Regions from separate parts of the Homo sapiens genome. Here region 2 is linked to region 1. The links are contacts of gene promoters, found by promoter capture Hi-C in blood cells and fetal thymus (Javierre and others, 2016). All regions are on one chromosome and are shown on one strand. Each heading gives the region's core, a stretch centred on a gene start or on the middle of the fragment in contact. The rest is flanking DNA. Distances are from core to core; before and after follow the strand shown. Region 1 holds the start of PC (pyruvate carboxylase). Region 2 overlaps SPTBN2 (spectrin beta, non-erythrocytic 2).

Region 1 (2,667 bases), core at 117-2,616:
GTGATTAAGAGTTCAACAGTTAAGGAGAGCCTGCAGGCAGGAAGCTGTAGCTGCAAGTGAGAGAAATGCTGAGCACATCCACCCCCAGCACAAGTGTTTGCATCACATACAGGGAAAGGGTGCCTTGGGGGAGGCCAGCCAGGGCTGATGGTGGCAGTGGGTACGGGAGCAATAGGGAGGCAGATGGCAGGCACTCTGGAGGTTCTGGTTGTCATCAGCAAGTGTTGGTACTTCTCTGAGCCTGTTTTCTCAGCTGGAGAACGGGTAAGGAGCCCAGGCCTACCTCTTCTCACAAAATAAAGACACAATCTGATTTTTTAGAATTTCAGACGAGGCACGCCTGTAATCTCAGCACTTTGGGAAGCCAGGGCAGGCCGCTCGCTTGAGCGTAGGAGTTCGAGACCAGCCTGGGCAACATGACGGAACCTCGTCTCTACCAAAAAATACAAAAATTAGCTAGGCGTGGTGGCGCCCGCCTGTAGTCCCAGCACTGGGGGACTGTGGCAGGAGGGTCGCTTGAGCCCGGGAGGTCGAGACTGCAGTGAGCCGAGATCGCGCCACTGCACTCCAGCCTGGGTGGGTGACAGCAAGACCCTGTCTAAAAAAGAAAAGAAAACAAAAGAATCTCAAAGTTGCCAGGGACCTAGGGACTTGGCTTCCGACTCTGATGCGCTTTGTAAACTACTAAAAGCTGGAGAAATAAGGGGCTGAGCCCAGCCCCACCTCCTGAATGAGCGGCCTTGGGCGAATCACTGCGTCTGGGCGCCTGGAGCTTCCCCGTCTGAAACAAAGTAGAGGATCCTACGGGAGGCGGAGTGCGAGAGCAAGGAACAAGGAAAGCCCTCGCCTTACACGCCGCGGCTTCCTGCAGAGCTGAGCCACATCCAGTACGATGGGGACAACTTGGGCTCCCGATCCTGACAGACTTGGGTTCGAACCCTCAGGGACCTCGCGCGAGGCGCTTTAGTCAGTTTCTCCATCTGCAAAATGGGCCCGAGAGCAAGAATGAGGCAGCCCGCAGGCGGACGCTGCGGAGGGGCGCTCGGGGGCTGCAGCCGGGGGCGGGTCCGGGGGCGGGTCCAGCCGGCCGAGCCCCCGCGCGAGGGGGAGGGGCGCCGTCCGCTGCGTCGCGTCGCGCACCGCGCACAGCCCGTCGCTGTCTCCTCCAGCCGTCACTCGCGGAGCCCGCGCCGCCTTTGCGCGCGCGACCCTTACATAAGCGTCCCTCGCAGCGGTGCCGGCGCACGTCCACCCGCTCCGACCCGCCGCGGGAAGAGGACCGTGCGGAGCGCGGCGGACACTCACCTCCTCGCCGTCGCCAGTCCTCGCCGCCGCCTCTACCGCTGCTGCCTCCACTGACAGAGAACAGCTGCGGTCTCCGTGCAACCGAACTTGCTGCAGTCCCGGCCCCGCCTTACGGACTTCCTATTGGCCCAGACAGCCCAACCCCTCCCGTTATTGGGCAGTGTTCTCCGTCACTCCTCGCCCCTAGGCTCTGGACTCCTCCCTGTGCCCGCCTGTCCGTCACGTTTAAGCCTTGGCGCCCCACGTCAGCCCCGCCCCTCCCGTCCCCGGCGAGCGCCTGGATAAGTGGCGAGGCTGGGAGAGCCCGCCCCTGGCGCACCACCGCCTACTCCCTTGTCTCCGGAGCCTCACGTGGGCCGCCGGACCCTAGCCGACGCCCGCAATAGGCGGAAGTGGCCGGGCTGTGGCTCGCAGTTATTGGCTGTCGGCGGGGGTGGGGACGTTCGATTCATTCACCCGAGTAGCACGTGTCTCCCGAAGCTGCAAGCACAACAGTTCGCACTGGGGCTCAGGCATCCCGGCTAGACGCAGATACGCGCTGGCTAGCGGAGAAGAGGTCGCAGGAAAAGCTAACGTTAGCGAAGGGCAGGAGGAAGGAGAAGGCGCTTGTGCCACACGGGTTACATGACTATGTCCTTTAACAGCTGCGTAGATGATGATGGGGGTCTACAGTACGTCTGTGTGACCTTGGGCAAGCAACTTAACCTCTGAGTCTCGGTTTTGTCATCTGCAGAGCGAAGCTACTCAGGACCTAGGGGGTTTGGAAGCCTTGTTTGAGACACAAGACACTTGACAAGACCCAAGACACTTGTCAAAGAGGAAAGCTTTGACAAGTGGAACAAGTGACTGAGGCATAAGTCTCTGTCATCGAGGCTTATTAATCCAGTTTGAGGGCGTGCTCGGGAAAAACACGAACCACAGACACATCCGTGGTTGTTTTTCCGAAGAGGTTTTCGGGAGGTTTAGTATTTATGCATTTCCTTAAAGGGGGAATGAGGGGAAGGCATGTAGGAAGAAGGGCAAGTAGGCGATTAGGACAATAGTTACATTCCTATGGGACTTTAGCTAATGCCCGGTAAATCTACGTAAGATGAGATGAATGTCTGAAGAGAAAAAGAGAGTAAAGGAAGAGTCAGTTATGCAGATGTCTCTGAGTAGGTAGTTTTGACTTTGTTCTGCACCTGGGAAAATAAGCTTGTAATGACATTCTTATTGTGGAATTTTTAGGAGCTAGACTTAGATTGTAGACCTGAAGCTACAATTGACCTGTCCTTGTTTATGGGAGGCCAGCAAGAATTTACTTGTGAATGATCTGTGGGGGCAGCCCTTCCCAAATGCCTGAGGTTTTTACCTTTCCGTGTG
Region 2 (2,667 bases), core at 76-2,575, 250 kb before region 1:
GATAGTAGAACTTGGTGAAGGTCGACATGGCCCCGGGTTTGGGGATGTGTGCAAGGCATCTGGGCCAGGGCCTGCCCTGAGGGTGGGTGGCCTGTGGGCAGCCACGGACCTTGTTGATGTCCGAGATGAGCCGGCCCTCGCGGGGCGTGTAGACCTTCTGGTTGTTGGCCCGAAGCTTGCTCTGGATGGTGAAGAGCAGCACTTCCAAGTTCCCTTTCTCGGTAAACCTGAGGCAGGAGGCCGGGTTGGGGTCAGAATTAAAGCCCACGAGGGTCACAAGGACTCTTTACTCTTCCAAATGGGTGTCCTGTGTTGCTTTTCTTCTTACAAAAGCAATATAAACTTTTTATGTGGAAGCCAGAAAATATGGGCTAACCAAAAGAACATCATTTTATTTTATTTTGAGACAGAGTCTTGCTTTGTCACCCAGGCTGGAGTGCAGTGGTGCGATCTGGGTTCGCTGCAACCTCTGCCTCCCGGGTTCAAGCCAATCTCTTGCCTCAGCCTCCCGAGTAGCTGGGATTACAGGCATGCACCACCACACCTGGCTAATTTATGTATTTTTAGTAGAGATGGGGTTTCACCATGCTGGCCAGGCTGGTCTCAAACTCCTGACCTCAAGTGATCCACCCGCCTCAGTCTCCCAAAGTGCTGGGATTACAGGCATGAGCCACGGTGCCCAGCCAAAATAATTCTTTTATAACCTATTTCCCCCACTTATTTTTCATGAACACCTTTCCATGTCAATAAATGCATTTCTTTAATATTATTTTCAGTGGCTGCCCATGACTTATTTTTCTTTTCTAGTGGTTGTGTTGATAAACATCCTTGAAGCTACATCTTTGTTTAATGTCCAGAAGACAACTTCCTAGGTTAAAGGGTACACCTTAAATCATTCCCTGGAATGTATAGAAACAATTGTTTTCTGGACTAATATTAGTTTCAGAGCTGATATATATTAACTCCAAAAGAACTCCATGACAGCATAAACACAGACGTTTTGGCAGGTACTGAACAGAATTGCCTAACAGCAATCACATACTTGGAACAGTTAATTGCTAAAATACTGAAATGATAAGAACCTCTGCAATTCTCACGTTACCAGCCACACCCATGTTGCCGGTTGTGACCTGCCTGTCAGGTCCAGTCCCCTCTATCCTATGCTAGGATTGGGTTGCCATGACACCTGATCAGTAATCTTATCTGATGGATCGCACTGACTCAACACATCATAGCAATCATTTCCACAGCATGTTTGTTTGTTTTTTGAGACGGAGTCTTGCTCTGTCACCCAGGTTGGAGTGCAGTGGCGTGATCTTGGCTCACTGCAACCTCTGTCTCCCGGGTTCAGGTGGTTCTCCTGCCTCAGCCTCCCGAGTAGCTGGGATGACAGGCGTGTGCCACCATGCCCAGCTAATTTTTTTGTAATTTTAGTGGAGACGGGGTTTCACCATGTTGGCCAGGCTGGTCTCAAACTCCCGACCTCAGTAGAGATGGGGTTTCACCATGTTGGCCAGACTGGTCTCGGTGATGCGCCCGCCTTGGCCTCCCAAAGTGCTGGGATTACAGGCGTGAGCCACCATGCCCGGCCCACAGCATGATTTTTAAAAACGACTAATCATTAAAAAATTTTATTTTGTATCAACTATGTTGTTTGGATGCTTCTGGTGTGGGAAATCTCCACTGCATTTATGTACTGCCAAATTTCCCTCCCTGAAGGCTGTGCTAATTTAGGCTTCCTCTCGTGGGAGCACAGCTCAGGGAAGGGTGGGGCCCCAGGGACACCTACTTGGGCGGCTTCTCCACGGTGCGGTAGGAGTTGAAGGACTGCAGCTGGTTCTGGACCCCGCTAAGGGAGTTGGCCAACTGCCGGTCATTGAGGGTCACGATCGTTTGCTCGATCCACTGCAGCAGCTCCGAGGCCAGGGACTCGTATTTCTCCACCAGGCGCTCTGCCTCCATGGCATGGTCCAGCACCTGGGAGGCAGAAGACAGGGACGTGACAGTCCCAGCCACAGGGTCCCTGGCCCAGTCCTGCAGCTCCACCCTGCCCTTGCACTAGGGCAGTAAGACCCCTCAGCCGGGCCTCCTCTGGCCTTTATGCCTACTGCCCATGGACAGTACCTTGCCAATTCTCTTGCCTTCCACGGCCAGGGCCTTCATCTTGGAGAAGTAATGGTAGTAAGTAGCCACATAGGTAATGATTGACTTCTCATCTGGCTGGTCCACATTCACGTCTGCAAGAGAGGACCATTTGGGTCAGGCCTCCCAGAAGTTCATCCATAACTTGCATCACTTACCCCAAACCCTGGGCCTGCCCAGTCCTCCAAGGCTGACATCTCTCCATCTCCTTTTAGAGCAAAATGACAACTTACCCATTCAAATGAAAAGGGCACCAAAAAGCTCATCTTTTTTTCCCCTTCTCCTGGAAACAAGAAGGGCCCTCCAAGCAGAGCACAAACCCCAGAAGCACAAGGAAGCTTTTACCCAGAGTTCCCCGTGGAGACCAAAATCAGTTGTTTGGGGAAGAAAAGCAAGAAAAGAAACAGCATTGCTATGTGGGGATGGATCATGGACTTTTAGGCTAGAATAATGTTTAAGAAGTCAATGGATTGAGGGGCAGTGGGACGGAAGGTATGAACTAAGCCTCCTGAACCTAGGATGCTC

The links. The method cuts DNA at HindIII sites, captures the fragments that hold promoters and counts their contacts. A CHiCAGO score of 5 or more calls a contact.
Region 2: a contact is called between a fragment that was not itself captured here and the fragment with the promoter of PC in region 1, in 1 of 17 cell types (endothelial precursors). The highest score is 5.2, in endothelial precursors.

The regions. Positions count from the first base shown.
Region 1 is chr11:66,957,017-66,959,683 of GRCh38, forward strand. It overlaps PC (pyruvate carboxylase), which reads right to left and starts at 1,367. Exons shown (of 23, transcript NM_001040716.2): 1 at 1,306-1,367. RefSeq lists enhancers at 1-161, 1,325-1,374 and silencers at 1,025-1,124, 1,445-1,804. The HindIII fragment of the contact is 4,821 bases long and covers 1-2,127 here.
Region 2 is chr11:66,708,793-66,711,459 of GRCh38, forward strand. It overlaps SPTBN2 (spectrin beta, non-erythrocytic 2), which reads right to left. Exons shown (of 38, transcript NM_006946.4): 9 at 2,125-2,237; 10 at 1,790-1,977; 11 at 110-227. Among named protein-coding and RNA genes, the nearest start is that of SPTBN2, 19 kb to the right of the region's middle. The HindIII fragment of the contact is 2,305 bases long and covers 174-2,478 here.